Linked DNA regions of Homo sapiens: all the other regions are linked to region 1. Evidence: promoter capture Hi-C in human tissues and cell types (Jung and others, 2019). All regions are on one chromosome and are shown on one strand. Each heading gives the region's core, a stretch centred on a gene start or on the middle of the fragment in contact. The rest is flanking DNA. Distances are from core to core; before and after follow the strand shown.

Region 1 (6,842 bases), core at 1,596-4,095:
ATGAAGTCAAGAGCACCACTCCAAATCATAGCACAGAACTGTATGGGTGAAGATATGTTTCAGCTGCAGCCAAGCATAAATAAAAGGCACTTCACACTGTTGACATTGATATCACTGGGCTCCAAACAGTGCTATTAGAACCTTTTCGACTAGCAGAGACACCTGGATGTAACTGCCCCAACTATTGCCCTTTTAGCCGCCACTGGATTCTGCCTGATTCCGGCTTATTTTTCAGCATCTGGGGTGGGTGAATCTAACTGGTGAAGCCTGGGTCATGTGCCCAAGCTCTAGCTGCAGTGGAGGCTGAGAAAGTATCCAGAAATGTTAGCTTCTTCATGGGAGGTGGGCTGTGCCTTAAAAGATAAAACATTCTCTGATGTAGGAAAGGGATTTATTCATTTACTAAGCAGTTGCAAAGAATGCCAAATGCCAACTTTAACCTAGAATGCCCACTCCCTTGTTACTAATCTTTATGGTTCAATTCCAAAGCCACCGCCTCTGGGAAGCTTTCTTTGATTTCTCCAAGTACCTCATCTTAGGAAACACATGTCTGCCTGCCTGCCCATTACCTGAGATATTTATGTGCCTGTCTCTTTCCGGCATCCCACCCCCTCACCCCAATCATTATAAGCTTTCCAAAGGCAGGAGTTGTGTTTATCCATCCCTGCATCTCCATATAGCACCTGGTAGGCACCCTGAATATTTGGTGATGAATGAATGAATGAATGAAAGTGTTGGTCTCATTTGACAGGCCTTTGTACTAGAGGTCCATGAAGGACTTGCACAGACTCTGCCTTACATAAGGGAGCCCTTTTTTCCTGGTGTGCTCTTCTGTAAATGGACTATGTCAGCATATTTGAAGAAAGGGGCATAGAGAATCAGAAAGCCCCATTGCGGTGGATAGTGGCGGATTGTAAGGACACAAAGGAGAGACTGAGGGAGGCAGGGTGACATATTTTGGAGGAGTAAATGAACTAGAGCAGGCATCAGAGAGGCAGGAGACCATTTAGAATTAGAGGACTTGAAAGGCCAGATTCCACCCCAACCTCCACACATCCTTTGGGTTCACAGATTAGTAAACTGAGACAGGAGAAGTATACCTTACAAACCTCACAGGGAAGTAGATCCAACTGTGCTTATGCAGATTTACCTTTTACAGCATCTTTGATGGGTGGGGTTTTCCAAGGTCACTGAGGACAGTGTAATTTAAGGGAAACAGTCAAGGCTTGAAGCCTACTGTTCAAACCTCAGCTCTTCAGCTCATTTGCTATACGACCTTGGAAAATCCCTTCACCTCCCTGACCACCTGATCTCAGTTTCCTCACATGGAAAATGGGAATCATAATATCCATCTTTTTGGATTATGGTCATGTAAAAAAGCTAACATACGTACATGTCTAGCATTTGGAGAATGCTTTAAACACATTAAGTCCAAGGTCGCAAAACAGCTTTTGCTTTTTTCCTTATTTTCAGTGCTCTGCCTTTATCCAACGTTATTAAAAAATATATGATGAGAGAGGAGAAAAGCAATTTATATGAAGGGTTAAAGATAGAAAAGGGGAATGAGACAGAAGAGGGAAGAGCTAAGAGAAAAGTGAATGCATAGAGACAGCACAAAAGGTGCAGATGGGTAAGCTAGACAGAGATGAGAAGTTGCTCACAAATTATAGGAAAGAAGCATTTGTAAGATTAAAGTCAAGATGAGAAGGAAGGAAATGAATGGAGAGATGAAACAGAAAACAGAGACAGGGAAGATGAAGAAAAGTAGGGGAGTGGGGAAGGGGCTGCACGGCACTTGACCCATGCAGAGGTGTCCGCTCCCTGGAGGGTCTCAGGTATGTGGGTCAGAGACAGAGTCAGCCCAAGACCAAAGGGTGCTGAATCTGAGGACCTAGCTCAACTTGAGTCTAGAAAGACTGCAGGTGAAGAATTGGTGAGCACTCCCGTTCTCTGGGACTTGGGCAGAGGATCTAAAAGACCCGGGAGCCAAGGACAGACAGAATAGTAGGTCTCTACCTCACACCCTTTTCAGGAATTTCACACAGAGAGCAGAAGCAGCCAAGTAGAGCTGCTCCAAGCTGGGAGCAGGGATCCAAAATAAAAAAGCGTGAGTGGGCTGGCTTGCAGGGCGGCAGCTAGGGGGCCAGAACAGCCCGGCTTCAGTCAGTTGTGGGGTCGGCGTTAGACGGTGGAGTTCGACGCCCCTCTGTCCATTAGCAATTAGTGCTAGCACAAGGCCTGGATGGAGGGGAGAGGAAGGTTTGCGGGCAGTGGGAGAATGAATGCAGGAGTTGTGGCCAAGTGGGTGGGAAGGGGGCTCTGAGGCTACAGGAAGTTATTTCAGAGACTAGAAAAGGGTAGGAGATTGGAGAAAGGACTTGTTCTTGGGCCTGAGGGGAGACAAAGTTAAGTCTTGGCTATCCAGGGGGCTCCCTATCCCCAAGAAGGCGGGGCCTTGAGCAAGGCTGGGCCAAGGCGCGCCCCCAGGTGCAGCCTCTGGGTTGAGCCGAAGGTGGGGTGAAGCCAGGAGAACTGGGTTGAGTCAGGGGGGCTTGGGGGGGCCCGAGGGGGCCCTAAGTATTAGGAATTTGGGGAGTTTAGGGAGGGGTGTTGTGGCTAAAGAATGCTGTGAGGGCGGAATTGGGGGATCTTGGGAAAGGGGAGGGAGCCACTGGGACTTGCACGAGGCCGGGCGGAGCCTCCGAAACGCTCGGGGTCTGCGGGGGGAGCCGGAGATCGGGGACGGGCGGCTGGGCCCCGGGAGGCGGCGCGGGGGGGCGGTCCAGGGCCGATCGGGAGGCGGAGCCCGGAGCTGGGGGCTGCTGGCGAGCGGCTCTCTCCGCTCCTTAGCTCGGGCGTCCTGGTTCGCTTCGGCGTCCGCCGTCTCCGCAGCTGCCTCCTCTTCCTCCTTCGCCACCGCCGCCACCGCCGCCGCCGCCCGCAGCACCGCAGCCCCTCCCGCCATGGCCGCCGCCGGCGCCCGGCTCAGCCCCGGCCCCGGCTCGGGGCTCCGGGGGCGGCCGAGGCTCTGCTTCCACCCGGGGCCGCCGCCACTGCTGCCGCTGCTGCTGCTGTTCCTGCTCCTGCTGCCGCCGCCGCCGCTGCTGGCCGGCGCCACCGCCGCTGCCTCGCGGGAGCCCGACAGCCCGTGCCGGCTGAAGACCGTCACGGTGTCCACACTGCCCGCCCTGCGGGAGAGCGACATCGGCTGGAGCGGCGCCCGCGCCGGGGCCGGGGCTGGGACCGGGGCCGGAGCCGCCGCCGCCGCCGCGTCCCCGGGCTCTCCTGGCTCTGCCGGCACCGCCGCCGAGTCGCGCCTCCTGCTCTTTGTGCGTAACGAGCTGCCGGGGCGCATCGCGGTGCAGGACGACCTGGACAACACCGAGCTGCCCTTCTTCACCCTGGGTAAGGCTGGGCGCCGGCACGCGCTAGATCCCAAGGAACCCCGAGCCCCTGCGTCATGCCGGACGGGTGGGGGCGCCCTGGGGATCCCTGCCCGGGGCTGCCCCGAGTGGGGTTGGCAGAGGGTAGAGGAGGGGCCCAGAGGTCGCACAGGTGGTTGGAAACGAGCATGTGGGAGGAGGTCCTGGAGAGCGCGCGGCGGGAGCCTGGGGGCGTGCCAACCCTCCCGCAGTGGGAACCTGCCCCTCTGCCTCTCAGTCCCGACCTGGAGCTCTGCTTGATCCATCCCGGAAGCCGGAGACCCCATTCACTGAAGGTGCTCTGGCTAGGGGCCGGAGCATCCCAGATCCTAAGCCAGTTTCAGGTCGAGCCTCCCACTTCTCCGGGTACCGTCACTGGCCACCCGCCGTCACCGCCCCCTCGCTCTCGCCTCGGAGTTGCGGGTTCTGCCCTTCCAGATGGATTTTCATGAGAGTAGGAATGGAGTAGTTCCGTGTGGAATCGCTCAACCCGCAAAAGCGTGGCTTCCGCATGGGCTGAGTGACCTTGGCCAAGTCGCTTCCCTTCTCTGAGCCTCAGTTCTGGCCATCTGTGAAATAGGGCTGGAGAGACTTGAGTGGTTGCTGAGAACTGGGATTCCGACTCCGAGGTCTCCACGTTTAGAGCCTCCCTCTACCCCCGTTACCGCCTTCCCTTTCTACCCACCTCCAGGCAGAGAGCCGGTTTGTCCTTGCAGCTCACTCCCTGGGCTAATAATAATTACTTAAAGGCAAGAAAAAGGAGAGGAGAGGAGATGGGTGTGGGTGGGGGGCTCCAACGGAAAAGTTAATCAGAAAAGTTCGCCAGCAGCTTGCTGCCTGCTGGTTCCCTGCGCGAATCCCGGAGGAGTCGGCCCTTCAGTGGAGCTGTGGGAAGCGCAGCTGATTTCCCACCCGGGTAATTGATAGCTTAATTATCTCGGAGAGCGTTTACAAAAATGTTGTTCCCCTTAGCTCTCCCGCGCTCGCTGCTTGCTCGCTCTCCCCTCCCCTCTTGGGGGCGCGGGGCCTTATTGGTTGTCGGAGTCTGGCCAACAACAGCGCCCGTGAGGCGCCAGGGGCTCGCCCAGACCCGGAGCTCTTCTTCCCCGGGTCTTTTCCTCGGCGGGATCCGCCTCGGGCACCGCAGGTGAGGGGCCTTCCAGGTGAGAACCTTTACGATCCCTGAACTTCCGAGGTTAACTCCTTGCTCGCCTGAAAAGACCCACAGAATAATCAGCGGACTACGCTCCACTCTCCTGGTAGCCCTGATATTGTTAAAAGTATTTTTGTGACCCACTCCCCATCCTTTCATGCTACCACCTCTGGGGATTTGAGCGAGTGCCAGTGGTTCTCCCGCTCTGAGCTTGAACCTCGGGGGTCGAGCCCCTGTACCCACCCTCGCAGGCTGTAACCTGAGCGTGCCGAGCGTTCCGGGAGGAGAGGCAGCGGAGCGTCCTGCAGGTTCCTCGGGGACTCCCCGCGGCGGCGCTTCTGGGGTGCGACGCACCAAGCACACACACACAGACACACACAAACCAGTAGCTCTTCCCACGTGCACCTGTGGGGCTGCCCATGTCCGAGAAAGGGAAGGAGGGTGGAGGTGGTGTTCCTTAGAGCGCCGCCGGACTAACCTCAGGCTCACAGCTGGCTCTTGCCACCTCCCCGTGGGGAAGGGTCTTTCTAGAGACACAGAAGGTATCCCTTCACTACCACTTCCATTCCTGACCTTCTCCCTTCATCCTTTAGATCTCTCTACTCCGGGGTACTCTGAGAGATGAGGGGTGGAAATCCTCCCGCCCCCCAAACGGCCATTCAAGTGAAGGGATGAGACGGTCCTTGGGTATGGCCTGACTTGGCAGTGAGGACCACAGAGCATTTCAAGTCTTCGAGGATATGGAGGACCTGCTCCAACCATCTGTATAGGTGCCCCGGGATTCCTGGAACTGACAATCTTTGCCATTTTTAACTTTGGCTTTCAAACAGGATGGGTGCCTGTGAGCCTGGGACAAGCTGAGTGAGGACCTGAGCGAGGAATTAGAAGTCTTGATTCCCCCAGGACCCATGTGTTGCTTGAGAGTCTCCTGGCAACAACCTGCACATGGAGACTTCCCCCTCCTCTGATGCACGGTCCCTGAGCCTGGCAGCTTGGGACCCTCTGCCCCTTGGAGAGCACGGGGCTGGCCTCCTTGGCAGCGCTGAGCCTTTTGGATGCATGCGGGGGATTGGGTTCTTGCCTCCTCCTTTTCCCCCTAGCGCCCTGGGCTGGCAGCTTTAGGCGCTCTCAACGGGGATTTGGCTAGCGAGGTAGTCACCAGATGGCTGGGTATAGCAGGAGCTGTGTAGGGAGACGTGGGATTTTTATTTGTGTTGGTCTTCCACTGTTTGTGTGTAAACACAGAGTGCACAATGAGTTCTGGGAGGACCTAGCTGGCCGGAAATGAGAGTTGGTGCCCGCTGGGGGTTGGGGGGGGGAGGGGTGAGGTGGGGGTGGTGGTAGGGGTGGGGTTGGGGCTGATACTATGAGACATTTATGGCCATCTCTTTCTAGTGTCCCAAGGCAGCCCCATCCCATCCCCAGACTTTTAAACATCCTGCCTAACGTTTGTCTCTGGCGAGTTGGGCAGCTTTCACTATCAGCTTATCAGTTCAGGGGATACGGACATGGCCAGTGCCACAGCTGAGCATGCAAAGTTGGTAAATGCCAAACTCTGCCAATAGTGGGGAGTGTGGAGCTACCACTAGGGGGTGATGGTGTCCACCAAAGCCCTCTGGTCACTTTGGGTCCTGGGACCAGAATTAGTGGTGGTAAACCATCCCTGGTATTAAAGGGGGACAAACAAAAAGAAGAATTCTTAGTTTATTCAAACTCCAGTGGGGGACCTCAAGGTAATTTTGCATGCACTATCTCCCATCTGCGTGCACCAAGGTCACCTTCATATTTAACCCTGGCTCCCTCCATTCTGCCTCTTTTGTTTCTGTTATTGGTAATGCCCAGACTGGAAGCAAGTCTTTTTTTTTTTTTTTTTTTTTTTTGCAGATCCTTTCCTTTTTGTATTTCTAGTCTCCCTATCAAATTTCAGCCTGCCTTAAGTAAATGGAAGTTTCCTTCAGTTGTGAACTATCTCCAAAGTTTGTTTGCCTGGGATTCTTCTTTAGAATCTGATTATAAGTCAATGACATTGACAAAGTGAATCTCCCTGAAAGTGATCAAAGAATAGCAAATAGTTATTGAATCCTTAATGTGATGCTAAGAGCTTTCTTCCTGCCTTGTATTATTAATTTACATAACATATATGGAGTGGGCTCTACTGTTACTCCCATTTGCCAGATGAGGAAGTATTTTTAGAGAGGTCAAACGCGTAATCCAAAGTCATGCCAGGAATCAATGGCAGACCTGGAACTGGAATCCTGGTCTGCCAG
Region 2 (6,842 bases), core at 2,184-4,683, 110 kb after region 1:
AAGGATATGGATCTATGAGCATAAAGGCAGGGGCACATGGAGGAATGACAGAGCAGAGATAGACAAGGCACAGGAGAGCTCAGTTGTCCTGGTTTGGCTGCATCAAATGTCATTTGGTCCAGGTTGGTGCCGTTTGGATAGATGGCATAGGGGGCTATAAAGCAGGGGTGAAGGAGAGGGTAGGGGACAGGTAAAACAAGGTGTGCTTAGTCTGAGGAGCTCTTACTTGGTCCTTCCCACTTCTCGTTCTTAATCTCTCCGAGTCCCCTTCCTGCACACTCTACCTCAGTATTCCAATCTGTGAAATTGGAGTCAGGAATTTCACCATGCTGTCCTCTTTACTTGGGTTTCTATTTTAATCTTGTATCAGTCAATATTTGTCAGGCTCCTGCTGTTGCAAAAATTGCTGAGCTACCAAAAAGGACACAGAGGAGATAAAAGCAATTCCTGGTCCAGAAGACTCTTATGATCTAGCAAAAGTCATGAGAATTAGGGATGGGTGAAGTTCGTGAAGTCAGGGAAGGAAGTAGAAGCCTGCCAGGGGAGTTGAGGGCTCAGGAGAGGGAGAGGGCATTTTGAACTGGGCTCTTAGAGGGTCACTTCAGCTGGGTTTTGAATGATGGGTAACATCCATGTATGCAGAAGAAAAGATTAAGGCATTTCAGGCAGGTGACATGGTCTGAACAAAGGCTAAGAGGTAAGAATGTTGCTTGGGGCTAGTGGACCATGATATGATTCCCATAAGCAATGGATTTAGGCCAGCGTCTGACCCTGGGGATTAATTCATCATATAAAGGTATTCCTTTAAGCCTTGCCTCTCCCATCTTTCTGCAAATAGCTGTTGGACTTAATGTCAAGTATGTTTATTCTTCTAGGCTCTGTTTGGTCACTGGGTTTTACAGGTTTCATTTTTCCTCCTCACACATCACACTGCATGGTGCCATGCTTTCCTGACTCATTGCATTTTACATGTCAGGTCTGAATCCATGCATGTGGCATTCAGATGCTGAGTCCCCTGGGTTGGGGTGTGGGGGTTGGGGTTGACAAGTCAGACTTAGAAACAGAGACTTAAGATGCCCTCTTGGCAGCATCTTCAGGAGAGTTGGAAGGGGCCCTGGCATTATAAGGGATTTTTACCACTCCTTGTCCCGCATACTGCTAAATTACTTTTGGGATTTAAGGAGGTTCTGCCTCTCCTCTCAGTGAATCCTTGTCTCGTTGTTCTTCTAAACAATGAGATCAGAAGAACACTGCATCATGATGCTGTGTGATTTAAGGCAAGTTGCTACTCTTCTCTGGTCCTTATTTAACATATTAGTAAAATGGGTGGGATAGATCATTGATCTCTATCCCTTTACACTCTCTTCCTGTTGTAATTTTCCATGATTCCAGATCGTTGCTGTAGGGATAACTTTAAAAGGTTTACGGGGCACTGGGGACAAGGTGGAAGGGTCTTGGAAACTGTTTACAAGTAAAGTAGGAAGTTTTATCTCTGTGACTGCTGCCTCCTTTTTCTTTATATTTGGTACTGTCACCCCCCCTCCCACCCCCACCACTTTTCTCAAAACAACCAGGTGCTTCTTGCCTTGACAGTGGTGAGATAGAAAAGAGTGACGAGAAGACAGACAACTGACAGGGAGTTCCATAGGCTAAATGCTGCTCTAGGCTCCTTCCAATGCATTATCTCCTGTTATTCTCACAGCTATCATAAGAGATTGATTTTATGATTCCCATTCTTTCATGTGAGGCCAGTGAGGCTCAGAGAGGTGAACTTAATTTGTTAAAGGTCAACCCAGTGAAATATAGGAAGGAGCAAAGTGATCTTAAAAACTCATTCACCGTAAGACAGAATGCTTCATATACCTCTTTCCCAGGAGATATTTGCATCTTAAAAACAGAGGAAACAAAGGACTTTACTATGATGAAATGGATAGGCAGAGCACCTGAGTGACCTGGAAGGATGCCTACTGCCCTGGTACTTATCATATCACACCTCCTGGCATACACTTGATTCCTCGATCTCTTTACTCAAATATGCAAGCTCCTTTCTCAGCCTATGTAGGACAGTGGTGAAAACACTGAATTTGGAATCTGTGAATCAGGGTTTGGAAAAGTGTAGTCCCCTTTTAGGGCCTCAGACATCTCAGCTGAAAACTCGGTGTTCTACTATCTACTTTACCTATGTGGGTTTCCTATGAGGGCTAAATGCGACAATGAATGAAAGCCCTTAGCCTGGCACGTAAGTAGGTGTTAGCAAAGGTTAGTTCCTGTCTCCATTCTTTAGTCACCCACTCTCTGCATCAGTTTGCAATGTTGTGGGACAAGGAAGAGGAGAAGAAGAAGTAGAAAAACTCATTGACATTGGGCTGTGTTTTTAAAAAGAGAGACAGAGAGAGCATGCAAACATAGAAACCAAGGGCATATCATGAAGCGAAATGACAAAGACCAAGCAAAGAAATACAGCAAGGAGAGAGGGAAATGGTACGGGAGAGAATAACTAGGAGTAATGAGAATCAATTCCAGCAACCCTCTATCTATTTCCAAATCTAATCTGAAACGATATGCTTTTCTCCCTTGCCAATAGCTCTTAATTCTTCTCTTCCCCTCCCTTATTTAACTGGGTATAACTGTATTATTTATCTTCACTGAGTGGCTTGGGAAAACAGTTTCATGTAAAAGATGCAGTTCCCAAAGGAGGTGGTAATGGGCAGATTGGAGGCAGAGGCAGAGATGAGCGCTGACAGCTGGGGTTGGGGAGGAGGAGTCTAAGGCACCTCTGGAGTCTGGAGACTCTAATCCCACTATTTGAAGAGTACCATTCTTTCCAGAAGAGCTTGAGTCTGTTCTCCAGCTGCTGCCAGAGGGCTTTGGCCATGTTGTGGCCCCTGCCACTTCTCCACCTTCTGTCCCCACGGGTGACCTCCCAAACCTAGCATACCATTGGCATTATCCTGTGGGCATTTAACCTGGCCTGACATCAGGATCTCTTAGAATTATGAAATGTCCAGATTATAGACTCTCCCTGCTTGCCCTGTCCAATCTCCTGATAAATGAGGAGCATTAACTGACCTCTCACGTGTGTTCCTGTAACAAGCTGTACCTCCTATCTTGTGGTCATTACCACACACTTATCATCTTTGCTGACTTTCCTTTTTCTGCTCTCCTAGATTGTGACTTTCTTGAAGACAAGAAACTCAGAAAATGTACATTTAGTGATACATTGATTTGACAAATATTTATTGCACACCTGCAGCATGCTAAATAATGAAGACTGTAATGTCCTAGACAGGCATCGCCTTCTACTATGAATTAATGATTAAATGGGTGGATGACTGAAAAAACTGAAGCAAGGGGAAATGCTTGCTGCTGCTTAGAGGGAACAAAGGAATATCCAGACTAAACTGGAAAGTCTGTGAGGATAGTAGTCAAATTGATCTTTTCCTCCAATCTATCCTTAGGACCTAGCACTGTGCCTGGCACATTTCAGATAGTCAGTAGATAATTATTGGAAGGTATATTGATGGATGAAGTATGTCGTTGGATGATTGCATTTGCTTTCAGTACTAACTGTAAAACTTTGCAGATTTCCAAGCATGTTGCTATGTATGGCCTTATTTTCTCTCAGTTCTACATTAGATGTGATGTAAGTAGGCCAGACTGTGACCCCCATTTTACAAGTAAAGAAAATCATAGAGGCTCTGTAATTTGTGCTCCAGGATACCAGTCAGGTGCTGTAGAGGGATCACAAAAATATAAGCTTCTGACTCAAAATTTAGTATTCTCTTCACTAACCCAGGCTGTTTAATTAAGTCAGAATGACTGTGGTCCATCCATTCACCCATTCACCCATCAGTCCATCCACCTTGTCATCTTAATTCATGATATATGGAGAGCTTTATTAACCTCTGAGCTCGGGCTTGGTCTGATTGCATAAAGGAGCCCCAAGTGGGACCTGGCACTTGTATTATTCTGCTAGGTGATGCTCCATGGGCAAGAGTTGGTAACCCCCAGCCTCTCTCTATAATGGTGGCTTCTGCGTTTTATACCGGTTCCCCCCACTGTATCCCTTTGTACATTTGTGACCTTCTTGCCTTCCTTCCCTTGTGCCAATTCTCCATCTGAAGTGCCCTCTTGCCACACAGCCATTTGTTGAAATCTTGCCAATTCTTTGAGACTCCTCCATGAAGAGTTTTTAGATCCAGCCAGAAGTAATCTCCTTTCCTCTAAGCTTTCTACTTTGCTTTATAGCTATTTATAGCATGTCTTTTCTCAGCCCCTTGGACTAAGCTCCTGAGGACAGAGTCCCACAATGCCAGCTCTCAGAAGAGGTTGGTTGACTAAATGAATCTTTAAAGTGAGTATTTGCATCTGCTACAGAGGTAAAATATAGTCAGTATAAAAAACGTAGAGAAAAGTGAATGAGAATATGATTAAAATCACCTCTGATCCCACTATTTAGTGAGTGCCATTCTTCGTGGTCCAGTGTATTTTTTTTCCAGCTGTTTATACACATACTCATGTCTAAACAGAATCATAACAGAGTCCATTTTCTATATGAACTTCCCCTATCTCACTTCATGAAAATATAAGCTCCTTGAAAATTAACATTTCTTTCTTTTCATGTGCATGCTCCAGGATGTTAGGTAAATTTCTGTAGAGTTGCTGTATGGGAATCCAGCCATTATTGACACCCCAAGTTGCTGTCTCTTCTCTCTGTCCTCTGGAAACACTCATCTGACTTCAAATATGGGACGGCTCAATTAAACATACAGAACATTTATGGAGCCCCTATTCAGTTCAGCCACTGTACCAGGCACCAGGCTACACAAATAATTCTGACATGTCCCTGCACTAGGATCCAATAAGGGAAGTCAGCTGTATAGACTATTTTAAGATATATATATATACACACACACACACACACACACACACACACATACATATGCACATATATATATATATATATATACACATATATATATACACACACCAAGACAGTAGTAAAAGAGGATACTATAACTATGTATATGAAGTAATATATAACAAATGTAACTGTGGAGTGCTGTCTAAGTATCAAGACCAACCTAACAGCTAATTTGTTTGTATTATCTCATTTGATTCTAAAAACGACCCTGTGAGGCAGGTGCTGTTATTATCCTCATTTGGTAGATGGGGGAACTGAGGCATGAAGAAGCGAAGAGCTTGCCCAAAAACACACAGGTTGAACACATGGGACCTGGGATGCAAATTCAAGCAGTTGGTCTCCAGACCCTGTGATCTTATGCAGCATGCAATATTCCTCCTTATGAAAGCATGGAGGAGCACAACATATTAAATTAGGAAAAACACATAGTATATGTGGTACGTTATATAAATATCTGGTGAGAATTAATATTTAAGTGCAAGGAAAGGCATAGGAAGAGATCAGACTGGGGAGAAATGCACATAACAGGCCAGGAAGGGCCTTGTGTGTCTGGTTCAATAAATTAGGTTTTATTATGAGGGATAGTAGAAAACATTGGAGGGTTTTGAGCAATGGAATTATATGGTCAGTTTGACAAGTTAGAAATTTCATCCTGGTAGCCATTTAATGGTTGGCTGGAAGGAAGGAAGCCCGAAGGTAGGGATACCTGTTAAGGAGCCTATTCATTTACTTCTTGAGATCCCCTTTCCCACCTGCTGTGCACCCAGGAAGGCTGACTTATATGATTTGTTTCATTTAAGCATTCTTGGGCGTTTAGTCAAGGTCAACTTGTGTGAGACACCTGCAAAAAATTGGTGGGTAGAAGGAGGATGAGGTTGGGAAATTACCCTCTTGAAAGCTTCCATCCTAGGTTGTGCATTGGCAGTGGCTGGATTATTTTAGAAAAAGCTATAGTTCTTATCTGGTAGCTATATGGTAGCCCTTTCCTACAGCTATGGCATTTTTAGGGTTTGATAATCCCCCATCCCCACCATCCCTTGCCCCTTCAGGCCTAGGGTGGTAACAATTCCTTGCTGTTATCAATGTGGGAGTACTTCGTTGCTCATCATTAGTTTGCCTTAACCTAGCCCAAGCCTTTGTAAATGCTCCCTTCATTAAACACTTCTCATTGACCTTCCTGAGTATGTCTCCTCTTCTCTGATGAGACCCTGACTGGCACAGAACCATTTGCAATAGCCCATGAGAGAGATGATAAAGCTTTGCATTAATTAAGCATTTTAGAGATGAAAAAGGGCATGAGTATTTGCGATTATTTCCCAGGCTCACTCAGCAAGACTTGATGTGTGACAATCACCCATGAATGCTGGAATAGCTAGTGGCAAGGTTGGTTAAAGTCAACACCACTACCTTTCCCAACTCTTTCTGCCCGGGCGGTGAGTTCATCTCATGTAATGTCTGCTTTCCCCACAGTGAGAAAAAGATCATTTGCAAACTCATTGGAAGCTTTCTCTGGGCTTCAGCAAATAATCTGCTGGAGGGTCAGCTGGTGCTGTAGAATCAGAAGGCCGGTTAGTTAGCCACTTGGGAGATGTTACCAAGATGGCTGGTGATGAGAAGAGCTGCTTATTTTCTTAATGACCTTCAGGAATTAAATAAAAATACAATGAGTGCCATAGATTAGGAAGAACAAGCCGATTAAAAGCACAACATGCCTTTGGGATTTTTTATTTCTTTTCCGGGAGGCTGAAAGGCATCAGTGGCCACCGAGGCAGGATGGCAGTCTACCCAGAATCACTGATGAAGGCTGATCCTCTCTCTCAGCTTCTGTGGGGCAGTTGAGGGGATTTGAGCCTGTTGAATATTTCACGAGTTGCAGCCCATGGGGGAGAGCAGAAAAAGGTGAAAAGGCAATCCCTGT
Region 3 (6,842 bases), core at 2,695-5,194, 90 kb before region 1:
GAGTGACAAATAAAAACACTAGCTCTTCAACTGGACCATCCAGGTGGACACGTTGGGATTCATCAAGGAAGCAATGTGACTCATGGAGAACAGAGAAAAGCAAAACAGGACAGCCATCCACCCAGGACTGGCACAGAGCCAACGGACACTCCCCTCTGTGGGGAAACGTTGAGTGAGTGACAACCCCGAGGACCCACACTTCTGCCATAGACCTGTCCAACCCTGGGCTCAGGAGATCCCCTATGGCTCCTTCAACCCCCACTCTACCAGGGCCTCCAGACTGACATGGAGAACTACATGGAGTCTGAGCAGAGCCACCAATCCCAGGCATACATGGAGTCCCAGGAGCCTTGAACCCCTGGACATCCCAGCATCAGTGGCTGCAGCTCTGGCAACAGGGGAGGCCAGGCTCCCTCACACACCTCTAAGATAGGAGCTGAATGCAGGAGCCTGAGGAGCAGACTGACTTACAGGCCTTGCCCCCACTGCACTTCACCAGAAAAGGCCCACTGGCCTGGGACTCCAATATGGCCACCCCAGCCCTGCCTGAGCTCTTGGGCCAGTAGCAGCCCTGCATTCCCAGTGATAGCAGGTAGGCCCATTATTTTTGCTGCTCTACAATTCCTGTCCCCACTTCCCTCAGGCTCAGGAGGGAGTGAAGTGATTAAGGACTAATATAGGCCCCCAGCACAGCACAGCTGCCTTACGGAAAAGTGGCCACACAATTTTCCACGCATGTCTCTGCCCCTGTTATCCCTCACCATTCAAGGCCTCTCAACCTTGGCTCCCATCTTAATCATTCTGCCCCCACCTGAACACTTCAGTTGGTGGTGGCTCTGCATTTCTCTAAGGAGGAAATCCCAGAGACAACCCACAGCCCCTCTCCCATTGCAGCTGCAGTGGTACTGCCCTTATAGCCCTTGGGCTAGGGAAGGAACAAAGGGCCTGGTTGCATCACTGGCACCTCCAGCATGCTGCAACCACCACACAGAGAGGACCCCAGTCTCTCTTCCCTGTAAGACCCCACCACCTACTCTTCACCAGGAAGGGCCCTTGGCTCAGGACCACAGAACAGTTGCCCCTTCCCTGACTGAGCATTCCCACTGCTAGTGGCTTGGTATTTCCCTGGGGTAAGGCTTCCAGAGGTAACCTCTGCCACTGCCACTGCCTTTGCTGCCGTGAGACTGGAGAAGGAACAAAGACCCTGAGTGCTTTATTCACACCAGCAGAATGCCACAGTCACCATAAGGAGAAGAAGCCAGTCTGTCTTCCACATGATCGCCCTCTCCCCAGGCTCATTACCAAGCAGGGCTTCTTGGCTTGGGACCACAAGGCAGCCATCCCACCTCGGGCCTATCGCTCTGATTGATAGTGGTGCTGTATTTCTCTTAAGTGGAGCCCCAAGAGACAAATGAAAAGCCTTCTTTCATTGCCACTACCAAGGTCCCTGTCCCTGGTTCCCCCAAGCTGGGGAGGGAACATAAAGCCAGAGCTCACCCCAGGGATGCTGTGTGCAGCCAGGGAGTGCCAAGTCAAAATCTGCAGCCAGCAGTCAAGCAGGAGAGGAGCTCACACCCTCAGAGCACTGAGAGGGAGCACAGCTGCAAATGCATGGAGATAGAGAGGAGCTTGGCTAAGCAAGAGCCTACCTCCCAAGCACAAAGCCTCAGCCCTCTGAAAACATCCAGAAATGAAGTCAGCTGATTATACTCAAACTACACCACAGTTAAAGGAACATCAGCCCACACACATGAAAAAGAAATAGTGCAAGAACTCTAGCAAGTATGAAAGCCAGTGTGTCCTCTTACCTCCAAACAATTGCATTAGATCCACAGCAATGGTTCTTAACCAGAATGAAGTGGCTGAAATGACAGACATAAAATTCAGAATCTGGATGGCAAGGAAGTTCATCAAGATTCAGGAGAAAGTTGAAACTCAATCCAAGGAATGTAAGGATTATGATAAAATAATGCAGGAGCTGATAGACAAAATGGCCATTTTAAGAAGGAACCAAACTAATCTGATAGAGTGGAAAAACACACTAAAAGAATATCATAATACAATCACAAGTATCAACAGCAGAATAGACCAACCTAAAAAAATAATCTCAGAGCTCAAAGACTGATTCACAAAACTAATTCAGTCAGACAAAAATATAGAAAAACAAAAATAAAAAAAGAATAAACAGAAACCTTCCACGAAATATGGGATTATATAAAGAGACCAAATCAACGACTTGGCATCCCTGAAATGACTCATTGGCATCTCTGAAAGGGAGGGATATAAAACAAGCAACTTGGAAACATATTTGACCATATCATTCATTAAAAAATTCCCCAACCTTCCTAGATAGGCTGAAATTCTGTTTCCGGAAATGCAGAGGGCCACTGCAAGATACTATACAAAACGACCATCCCCAAGACAAATAGTCATCACATCCTTCAAGATCGACATGAATAAAATAATAGTAAAGGTAGCTGGAGAGGAGATATAGTTCACCTACAAAGAGAAGCCCATCAGGCTAGCTGCAGAACTTTCTGCAGAAACCCTACAGCCAGAAGAGATTGGGGGCATATATTTAGCATTTTAGAGAAAATAAACTTCAACCAAAAATGTTATATCTAGCCAAACTAAGCTTCGTAAGTGAAGGAGAAATAAGATCTTTTTCAGACAAGGAAATGCTAAGAAAATTCCTAACTACCAGACCTGCCTTACAAGAGGTCCTTAAGAGAGTGCTTGGTTTTTTGTCCTTGTGATAGTTTGCTGAGAATGATGGTTCCCAGCTTCATCCATGTCCCTACAAAGGACATGAACTCATCAATTTTTATGGCTGCATAGTATTCCAGCACACCAACACGGCACATGTATACATATGTAACAAACCTGCACATTGTGCACATGTACCCTAGACCTTAAAGTATAATTAAAAAAAAGAGAGTATTAAATATGGAAAGACCATTACCAGCTGCCACAAAAATGCACTTAACTACATAGACCATTGACACTATCAAGCAACCACACAATCAAGTCTTCATGATAAACAGCTAACATGACCATGACAGGATCAAATCTGCACATATCAATATTAATCTTGGGTGTAAATGAGCTAAATGCCTCAATTAAAAGTCACAAAGTGGTGGCCGGGCATGGTGGCTCACGCCTGTAATCCCAGCACTTTGGGAGGCCGAGGCGGGTGGATCACGAGGTCAGGAGAGCTAGACCATCCTGGCTAACACGGTGAAACTCCGTCTCTACTAAAAATACAAAAAATTAGCCGGGCATGGTGGCGGGTGCCTGTAGTCCCAGCTACTCGGGAGGCTGAGGCAGGAGAATGGCATGAACCCAGGAGGCGGAGCTTGCAGTGAGCCAAAATCGCGCCACTGCACTCCAGCCTGGGCGACAGAGCGAGACTCTGTCTCAAAAAAAAAAAAAAAAAAAAAAGTCACAAAGTGGCAAACTGGATAAAGACACAAGAACCAACTATATAATGTCTTCAAAGAGGCCCATATCTCATGCAATGACACCCATAGGCTCAAAGTAAAGGGATGAAGAAAAATCTACCAAGCAAACAAAATAAAACCAGCAGTTGCTTTTCTAATTCCAGACAAAACAGACTTTAAACCGACAATGATCAAAAAAGGCAAAGAAGAGCATTACAAAACTAACTCAGTCAGACAAAAAAATACAGAAAAAAATTGAAAACAAACAAAACCTTCCAAGAAATATGAGACCATATAAAGACACCAAATCAATGATTCATTGGCATCCCTGAAAGAGAGGGAGGTAAAACAAGCAATTTGGAAACATATGTGAGTGTTAAAGGGTTCAATTTGTAACTATCCTAAATATATATTCACCCAACACAAGAGAACCAAGATTCGTAAAACAAGTTCTTAGAGATCTACAAAAAGACACAGATAATCATACAATAATAGTGGGAGTCTCCAACACCCTACTGATAGTAATAGATAGATGATCAAGACAGAAGACTAACAAAACTATTGGGGACATGAACTCAGCACTTGACCAAGTGGACCTAACAGACATCTACAAAACTCCCTACCCCAAAAAACAGAATATACATTATTCTCATCTTCATATGGCACATATTCTAAAATCAACCACAGAATCGGCCATAAAACAATTCTCAGCAAATTAAAAAATAACTGAAATCATATTAGCAACACTCTTGGACCACAGTGCAATAAAAATAGAAATCAATGCCAAGAAAATCACTCAAAACTGTACAATTACATGGAAATTAACCTGCTCCTGAACAACTTCTGAGTAAACAATGAGATTAAGGCAGAAATCAAGAAATTCTTTGAAACTAATGAGAACAAAGATACAACATACCAGAATCTCTGGTACACAGCTAAGCAATGTTCAGAGGAAAGTTTATAACATGAAGTGCCCAAATCAAATAGTTAGAAAGATCTCAAATTAACAACCTAATATTACACCTTGAGGAACTAGAAAACCAAGAGGAAATCAACCCCAAAGCTAACAGAAACAAGAAATAACCAAGGATCAGAGCTGAACTGAATGAAATTGAGATTAAAACACACACACAGACACATACACACACACACACAACCAACAAAACTAGAAATTTGTTCTTTGATAAATAGAAGACTGCTAGCTAGACTAATGAAAAAGATGATCCAAATAAACACAATCAGAAGTGACAAAGGGGACATTACGACCAACCCCACAGAAATACAAAATACCATCAGAGACTGTTTTGAACATCTCTCTGCACACAAACTAGAAAACCTAGAAGATATGGATAAATTCCTGGAAATATACTACCTCCTTTGACTGAACCAGCATGAAATTGAATCCTGAACGGACCAATAATGAGTTCTGAAATTGAATCAGTAATAAAAAGCCTACCAACAAGAAAAAGCCCAAGACCAGATTGATTCACAGCTGAATTCTACCAGACATATAAAAAGAGCTGGTACCATTACTACAGAAACGATTAAAAGAAACAGAGGAGGAAGGACTTCTCCCTAACTCATTCTCTGAGGTCATCGTTATCCTGATACCAAAACCTGGCAAAGACACACAAAAAAGAAAACTTCAGGCCAATCCCTTGATGAGTGTATATGCAAAAATCTTCAACAAAATGTAACAAACCAAATCCAGCTGCACATCAAAAAGCTAACCCACCACAATCAAGTAGGCTTTATCCCTGGGATGCAAGTTTGTTTGAACATATATGAATCAATAAATGTGATTCATTCGTAAACAGAACTAAAAACAAAAACCACATGATAATCTCAATAGATGCAGAAAAGGCTTTCAATAATATTCAGCATCCCTTCATGTTAAAAACCTTCAACTAACTGAGGAACACACCTTAGAATAATAGGAGCCATCTATGACAAACCCACAGCCAGTATCATACCAAATGGTCAAAAGCTGAAAGCATTCCCCTTGAGAACTGGAACAAGACAAGGATGCCCATTCTCACCCCTGCTATTCAACATAGTACTGGAAGTCTTAGCCAGGGCAATCAGGCAAGAGAAAGAAATAAAAGGCATCAAAATAGGAAGAGAGGAAGTCAAGCTATCTCTGTTTGCAGATGATATGATGTTATACCTAGAAAACCCCATAGTCTCTGTCCAAAAGCTCCTAGATCTGTTAAGAAATGCTAGCAAAGTTTCTGGTTACAAAATCAATGTACAAAAATCAGTAGCATGTCTATATACCAAAAACGTCCAAGCTTATTTCCAAATCGAGTACGCAATTCCATTCACAATAGCCACAAACAAGCTAAAATACCTAGGAATTCAGCTAACCAGTGAGGTTAAAGATCTCTATAACAAGAATTACAAAACATTGCTGAAAGAAATCAGAGATGGGCCAAACAAATGGAAAATCATCTCATGCTCATAAATAGGAAGCATCAATATTATTGAAATGGCCATACTGCCCAAAGCAATTTACAAATTCAATGTTATTCCTATCAAACTATCAATGACATTCTTCACAGAATTAAAAAAAATTCTAATATTTATATTGAACGAAAAGAAGAGCTTGAATAGCCAACCCAATCCTAAGCCAGAAGAACAAATCTGTAGGCATCACATTACCTGACTTCAAACTATACTTCCAGGCTATAGTAACCAAAACAGTATGGTACTGGTACAAAAACAGACACATAGATCAGTGGAACAGAATACAGAGCCCAGAAATAAAGCCACACACCTACAACTATTTGATCTTCAACAAAGTCAACAAAAAACAAGCCATAGTAAAAAAAACTCCCTGTTCAATAAATAGTGCCCTGAAACAATAAATGACAGGCTAGCCATCTGCAGAAGATTTAAACTGGACCCCTTCCTTACATCATGTAGAAAAATCAACCCAAAATGGATTAAAGACTTAAATGTAGAACCTAAAACTACAAAAACTGGGAAATACCATTCATACCATTCTAGACATAAGCCCTGGTGAAAATTTGTTGATGAAGATGCCAAAAGCAATTGCAAAAAACAAAAACAAAAACATCAAATTGACAAATGGAACCTAATTAAACTAAAGAGCTCTGCAGAGCAAATGAAACTATCATCAGAGTAAATATACAACCCACAGAATAGGAGAAAATATTTGCAAACTATGCATCTGACAAAGGCCTAATATCCAGAATCTATAAGGAACCTAACAAGCAAAAACAAAGAACCCCATTAAAAAGTGGGCAAAGAACATGAACAGACACATTTCAAAAGAAGACATACATGCAGACAAGTATATGAAAAAATACTCAATGCCACCAATCATTAGAGAAATGCAGATCAAACCACAATGAGATACCAGTCAGAAGCGCTATTATT
Region 4 (6,842 bases), core at 1,200-3,699, 70 kb before region 1:
AATCGAACAGACAGATCTGCTATGTGACCCTGGGCATGATTTACCTTTCAGAGACTCAGAACAAAGAGAAAAGTCACCTACATTAGAGGACTATGGTGAATATGAAATGAATATTAGCTTTTCAGCAAGGGTGACCACACGTCCTGATTTCCCCAGGATGGTCTCAGTTTTTGCTTGTGGTCCTGATGTAATTGTGAACGGCACCCCTTTCATTCTCAAAAGGCAATAAATTATATGGTTAGCCTATCCAAAACGCAAGACACTCTGCCAGACATAGTAGTTACTCAGCAAAACCTAGTTTCTCTCTATTGTACTTGAATGCTGATCTTCTGTGAATGCAGATAAAGGGACAGGTGAGGCAGTTTCCTTTCCCTTTACTTCTATGGGGTAAACTGTACACTAGCTTTTCTGCATCCAGCAAAGAAAGCAGTATGGCAGTGTATGGAAAAATCAATAGTGAAGAGGGTAGGAGTCATAGGAAGATAAACCAAGCCAACAAATTTCAGCAGAATCCTAAGCAAGCCCCTTCGTCCTCTGTCCTGCTGTCTCCCACGTATGAGGAGTGATCACCTTTGCTTTTCCTTTTTTGTAGGACTGCGGCAAGGCCCAAATGCAGCAATGGGTATGAAAATGCAGTCATAGGCAGAAGCAAGGTATCATTATCTCATTTTTGATGCATACCAACTATCCACAATTGGATATTTTCTAGAGATACTTCTCTGAAAAAGATGCAGAAGTTCAGCATGTATAGCCCCATAGCTATATAATATACATTCATTTATGTCTTCCAAGCCTAAGAAATGTGGGGAATTATTGAAATGTCTACCACTGTGATAGCTCAAATCAGTGACAATGGCCAAATTTTGTTGCATCAATGTCCCTGAGGGGAAGCTGGCACCAATGCCAGGATAGCAGCTGATCTGCGTGTCTATTTACATAAATTTGCATTGGTGTGATGTTGAAAACTAAATGCCAATATTAAGGAAAATCGTTTTCTCCCAGACTAAGTCATCTCAGCAGAGCACAGTAGCAAGGAATACAGGCTCTGGAACCTGGCCTGCTACCCTCTATTTGTGTGACCTTGAAAGTTATAACCTCTTGTGTTGTATTTCCTTATCTAGAAATGGGAATAATGATAGCACTGACCACAGAAGGTTGGTGCAAGGGTTAAATAAGTTAATGTGTATGAAGGGTTTAGAGCATCACTTGACCTATTAAGTGCTGTGATATTAGCTGCTATTATTAACTCACACCCCATCCATTGTCCCTCACCATCAGTTTTTGTAACGCAGCCTCTGCTTTTTCTTCTATAAATCATAAAATTTAGAAATTTAGAGCTGGGAGGGATCTCAGAACATCTAATCAGTCACTTTTAGACTTTTATTTTATTCCTTTTAAAATAACTATGGAGCACTTTTTGAAAATAAAAGCTTACACGGAAACCCAGCATGGGGAACCATAGTAGCGTTGCAGTTAAGAAAATGGGCTTTGCAGATAGACAGGTCTGATTTCTAGTTCAAAGCTGCTTATTAGCCTTCTAACTCAGGGCAAGTGATTTACCTTGGCATTAAGCCTTCATTTCATAAAGTGTAAAATAGCAATCGTAATTGTAAATATTTCATAAGATTGTTATAAAGTTAAATGACTTCACACTTATTGAGTGTTTAGTGCAATGCCTGGCACATAATAAAGACCCAATAATTACATTAAATTCTTATGACTTTAATAAGTGAAATAGATACAGGAGAGCCAATCCAGCTGAAGCAGAGGAGAAGACATGGACCCCATGAAAGGCTCCCAGGGAACTTCTAGGACTCTGCAAAGCACAACTTAAAAGCTCCTGATCTAAGCCAACATCTGGAAATCAGAGTCCAGGAAGTTCTCAGCCCTTAATGTTAATTAACACATTCCTTCATCTCTAGTCGTTGTAATTGTTCTAATTCTGCCACTGTCCCCTACTGGTCATGTGATTGCTCTTCTTTTCCTTTTTCTTAAAGTTACAGCCCTGAGACAGTCTCTTTGGTTTAAACACCTTTTTCTAGGCCTGATTAAGCTGAGCAAGATTGTGTGGCATCCCCTGTGGTTGGCTCCCAATGGGGGTGAAAGTATCATGAACTTGCATTTCTAACATCTTCTGTTCCCTTCCTGTGCCTTTGACAGCTCACAGCCGGAGGGGGAGTGAGTCATTTGGTTAAAAATAAAAATACTACCATCTTTTCTCTAATGGCTTTGTTCATGATCACTGCAGGCTGGCACTGATATGTATTCTAAGCAGCCAGGGATAGCCAGTGGGCAGCCTGGGAACCTAGCTGGATTGCCTAAAACCAAAGTTTTGTCATCTCCTTTACTTTGCTGAAACACGGGGATTCAGCCATCTCTACCTTGGCTGGGCTACATTAGCATGGGGTGGATGGAATAGATGGTCAGCCTTCAGAAGAGGGGAACAGTGATGAACCCAAGAGTCACTTAGAGGAGAGAAGGTAAGATTCATAGCCCACAAGAGGGTAGCCCAATCCCTTCATTTTACTGAGACCCAGAAATGGAGCGTTACTTATCTAAGGTCACTTAAGCTGAGAGTTGGAGAAGGAAGCCATGGATTCAAGGCTTCTGTCTATAACAATTACAATGACTATTGCTCTTATTTCTACTTGCTTTTCCCAGCAGTATGTTAAATGTTTTATGTTGTTTGCCTCATTCCATGATTAACACAATTCTATGAGGTAGGTATTATTTTCCTCATTTTACAGATAAGAAAACTGAAGTTTAACAAGGTAAAGTGACTTGCCTAAGTTCCACTGACTAGTACATGGTAAAGAAGTGATAAAATAAGTTCATTTAGGTCCAGTGCCTAGGTTTTCAATCATTGAATCCTCAAAGTTTAGGGAGTGGGGAGTGTATTTATTAGCATGTGTATGTGCTAAGAGAGCAGCAACAGTGTCCTATTCATTATTAAATCCCCAATTTTTTTTTTTTTCTGAGACAGGGTCTCTCTCTGTCGCCCACACTCGAGTTCAGTGACACAATCTCCACTCACTACAACCTCCACCTCCTGGATTCAAGCGATTTTCCTGCCTCGGCCTCTCAAGTAGCTGGGATTATAGGCTTGTACCACCATGCCCAGCTAATATTTTGTATTTTTAGTAGAAACAGGGTTTCACCATGTTGGCCAGGCTGGTCTGGAACTCCTGACCTCAGATGATCTGCCCACTTCAGCCTCCCAAAGTGCTGGGGTTATAGGCATGAGCCACCATGCCCAGCCTAAATCCTCAATTCTTAACAAAATTCCTAAACAGGAACAGGCACCCCATGAGGATTAAGTCTATGTGTTATAACCATAATTTTTGGCTCCATTAGAATCTGGGTGTTGCCCCACCCCCCCGCCCACTTCTAATTAGGATGTTAGTGACTACTATACGACCTTGGTCAACTCTGCCAGAGGACAACTTCCTGTGGCCAGTTTGGGATAACATCTGTTTTCTTTCCCCATCAGACACTATGTACCTGACTTATGCACAGGCTAGTGAGAAGCATTAATGTTGGAACTGAAATGGAAGTTAGTGAAGCCATGACATGTGTCCTGATTTCACCATGTGACTTTGGAGAAGTCACTCATTTTTGCTGAACCTTGATTCACTCAGCTGTAAGGAAATCAGATCATTTGCAAGAACCCCATTCAACAATTGCTTGATCCAAGCATGATGTAAAGCCAGGTTTCTCAAGCTCAGCATGATAGAAGTTTTGAGCCAAATAATTCTTTTTAAGGAGATCTGTGCATTGCAGAAAGCTTAGCAACCTCCTCAGCCTCTGTGAGAGGCCAGTAGTTCTTCCCCAGTTGTGACAAATAAAAACATCTCCATACATTGTCAGATGCCTTCTAGAGAGCAGAGGGCAAACCCTCTGGTGTGAAGTGACCTGGGTTTTGTCTTGGCTTTTTCAGCATCTATCTCAATTTCCTTACAGCTCCCTTGCCTTCTCTGGGCCTGAGTTCTCACTTGAAAAAAAAGGGACTTATTCTATTTGGCCAGGATGATTGAGCCATGAACATGCTCCAGTTGTGGTCTTTTCCTGTTTGTGCTGAGGATGGAGGTAATGATCAGTTGAAAGAATTGGTGCTAAGTGCTTCGCTACAGGTATACGACCATCAGAATCCAGTATGTGTGCTAAGGGCAGGGTGGGAGCTTGGAGAAAGTATTATGTTCACGATATTTGTTAAACCTCATAAATCTTGTCTAAAACCCTAGGAAAATCGCATAAGCCCTGTTTCACACATTCCTTTCCTAGATGCCCACAGTCCAAATCCTTTACCATCATATTTGCAATGTCTATGATTTGAACTCTGCCTAACTCCTATTCTTCTAGATAGGTAGATAGGTAAGTAGATAGATAGAAAGATTGAGAGAGAGAGAGAGACAGAAAGAGAGAGAGAGAGAGAAATGAATAGACATGGGCAAATATCTATGTCTATCCAATAGGAGATATATACATAATAATGGTGATACAGATAAATATGAGATAGATACATGGTTGGATGGATAGATAGATAGATAGATACATAGATAGATAGAGGTAAAGAGATCCTATCAGTTCTTTTTCTCTGAAGAACCCTGACTAGTAAAATATATTAATCATCATCATTATTATCACTGTTGTTCACAGAGCATCCAGTCAGCTAAATATATATTCGAGAAAATGTGCTAGACTCTAGAATCAGATATCATTTCTCAGATGACATAGGGACTTCAGTTCTGCCTGTTTCTGTTCTGTGCTGTAAGCTCCTTCTTTGGAAATGGCCATAGTAACGCCTCCTCCCTCTGCCTCAGGCATTCTGCTGAGTCTCTCCAGAGGTAAGAGATGTAGAAGCTCTTTCTAAGCTCAGAAGTCACTCCTCCTTTGAAAAGGATGGTTATCTATGGCAAAATCAGGGAGACAATCACCAGTTCTGTAGCCAGGCTTTTGGCCTGTTTTGCCCACTGCTATACACTCTTTGCCCTGGGCAGGGCCATTATGGTTGAATAAATGAAAAATCCTACATTTCCAATGGCCAGTTTGGAATGTCAGGATAACTGTTATCCATGTCCACATTGACTAGATAGATAAACATCACATTATGTGAGAAAGTCAAACATATCCAAAGTTGGAGAATGATTTTTCGATGAGTTCTTCTGGAACAATTGTTTTTCAGCTTTCATTTGAGGAGCAGAACACTCTGACCAAACAAAATCTTATGCAAAAGCACACTATACAAAACAGGAGCTGTTTTGGTTGAAGTGTGTGCATGGTGACAGGGTTACAGATCCCAAACACTCCCTACATACCCTGTGCCTTCTTCTACTTCCTCTTCCTTTTCTTTTAGCTTTCAAGGCTATCTTTAAAACCTTAAGTACTTGGAAAACACATTTGGGAAATCATTGGCCATAAATATTTTAGACAGAGGTTGGGTGTCATTAAAACAGCTCTATGCAGGGACCCCGACAGTTCCAGCTTAGCCTTCTTTCCGCCTTAGACTCTGTATGAGACCTCTGGCAAGTACTTTTCTTCTCTGTGTCTCAGTTTTCCCATCTCTAAAGTGAGAGAGGTAGAATGATATTGAATGGTCCAACCAGGCATCAGTCTAGCACAGATCAGACACTCATGTGATCTATCTATTTCTCCCTCCATTTTGTCTTACTATGTTGTCCCAATCTCCTCTTCCTGAAGAAATCAGGGGCCCAGGGGGAACCCAATAGCATGGAGCATCAGCTGCAGCAACTGAGCAATGTGATGGTGTCACCGTGTCTCCTCAAGCTCTTGAATGGTACAATCAGTTGTCTGTACGAAATGACCAGAAATCAAAAGACTCAATGTTGTGATCACAGCTGGGACCCCATGTTTGGCTTGAGCAGGATAGAGGCACAATCCTGGGGCCACATTCCAGACAATTAAAGAAAATATCAGCATCTATTTACCAACGAATTACAGAACATCATTCAAATGTCATCAGTCCAGAACCCACTCCCTGGCTCTCACAGAGCTCTGACTAAGAGCAGTCTTCTTTTCCCTCTTCTCATTACCTCGCTAATATTAGATCAACATCTTATAACTTCTCATGGCATAAGCTTGGTGTGAGGGAACTTGCTTTCTCAGGATGCCCTTCTCTGCCACATAAACATACACGCCTCTTTGACTGCTGTTTTGTGAATCAAAATTTCCATCTTCTTACTTTTTTTCTGCATCCTGGTGTCAAGAAGTCAGAAAACCTAATTTCTAAATCTTGCTTCTGCCATTTCTCCTTGGGATGATCTTCAACAACTTTTCCAAACCTTGGATTTCATGCTGATTCTTCCTTCTTGATCAGGTTTTTAAGTTTTTGAGATAATCAAATTATCATCTGAATTTTAAAGTCTATTATGAACTACAAAAACATCATTCGAATGTTAGTATTATTATGGCCTAAATGGCTATTTACATTTTACAAAATGCTTTCAGCACCAGAGTTATTTCCCAAATTGGGTGCCAGGAAAATCTAGTTTCTTAAAATAAGACTGCTCTAGGGAAGAAAGTTATAAAGCATTCATGGAAAAAAATAAAATTGGATTTTCAATTATGCAAATCTCTTTATGCAGACCTTCTCAGTGCCTTTAAGCTAGAAATGTTATCTACTCACAGAAGCTGTTATTCCTCTCCCATGAATCACTTATTTTCACTTTTTAAAATTAATAAGCTAGAAATATTATCTACTCCCAGAAGCTGTTATTCTTCTCCCAGGAATCGCTTATTTTCATTTTTTAAAATTTAGCAGGAAGTAAAATTTGAGAATCACTGATCCTATATTACCTTCTATAAAGGAAATTACAATATAACAA

The links. The method cuts DNA at HindIII sites, captures the fragments that hold promoters and counts their contacts. A contact is called where the count stands out against the background at its distance.
Region 2: a fragment that was not itself captured here is called in contact with the fragment with the promoter of ASTN2 in region 1 in 5 of the 25 tissues and cell types used here (H1 embryonic stem cells, aorta, dorsolateral prefrontal cortex and 2 more).
Region 3: a contact is called between a fragment that was not itself captured here and the fragment with the promoter of ASTN2 in region 1, in 2 of the 25 tissues and cell types used here (IMR-90 fibroblasts and aorta).
Region 4: a contact is called between a fragment that was not itself captured here and the fragment with the promoter of ASTN2 in region 1, in 3 of the 25 tissues and cell types used here (dorsolateral prefrontal cortex, hippocampus and pancreas).

Annotation. Positions count from the first base shown.
Region 1 is chr9:117,411,060-117,417,901 of GRCh38, reverse strand. It overlaps ASTN2 (astrotactin 2), which reads left to right and starts at 2,845. Exons shown (of 23, transcript NM_001365068.1): 1 at 2,845-3,405. The coding sequence starts at 2,964. The HindIII fragment of the contact is 9,596 bases long and covers 1-6,842 here.
Region 2 is chr9:117,296,798-117,303,639 of GRCh38, reverse strand. The region is part of intron 1 of ASTN2 (astrotactin 2); the gene reads left to right. Among named protein-coding and RNA genes, the nearest start is that of ASTN2, 110 kb to the left of the region's middle. The HindIII fragment of the contact is 5,743 bases long and covers 562-6,304 here.
Region 3 is chr9:117,502,168-117,509,009 of GRCh38, reverse strand. No RefSeq gene overlaps it. Among named protein-coding and RNA genes, the nearest start is that of ASTN2, 91 kb to the right of the region's middle. The HindIII fragment of the contact is 5,434 bases long and covers 1,228-6,661 here.
Region 4 is chr9:117,480,680-117,487,521 of GRCh38, reverse strand. No RefSeq gene overlaps it. Among named protein-coding and RNA genes, the nearest start is that of ASTN2, 69 kb to the right of the region's middle. The HindIII fragment of the contact is 4,983 bases long and covers 1-4,940 here.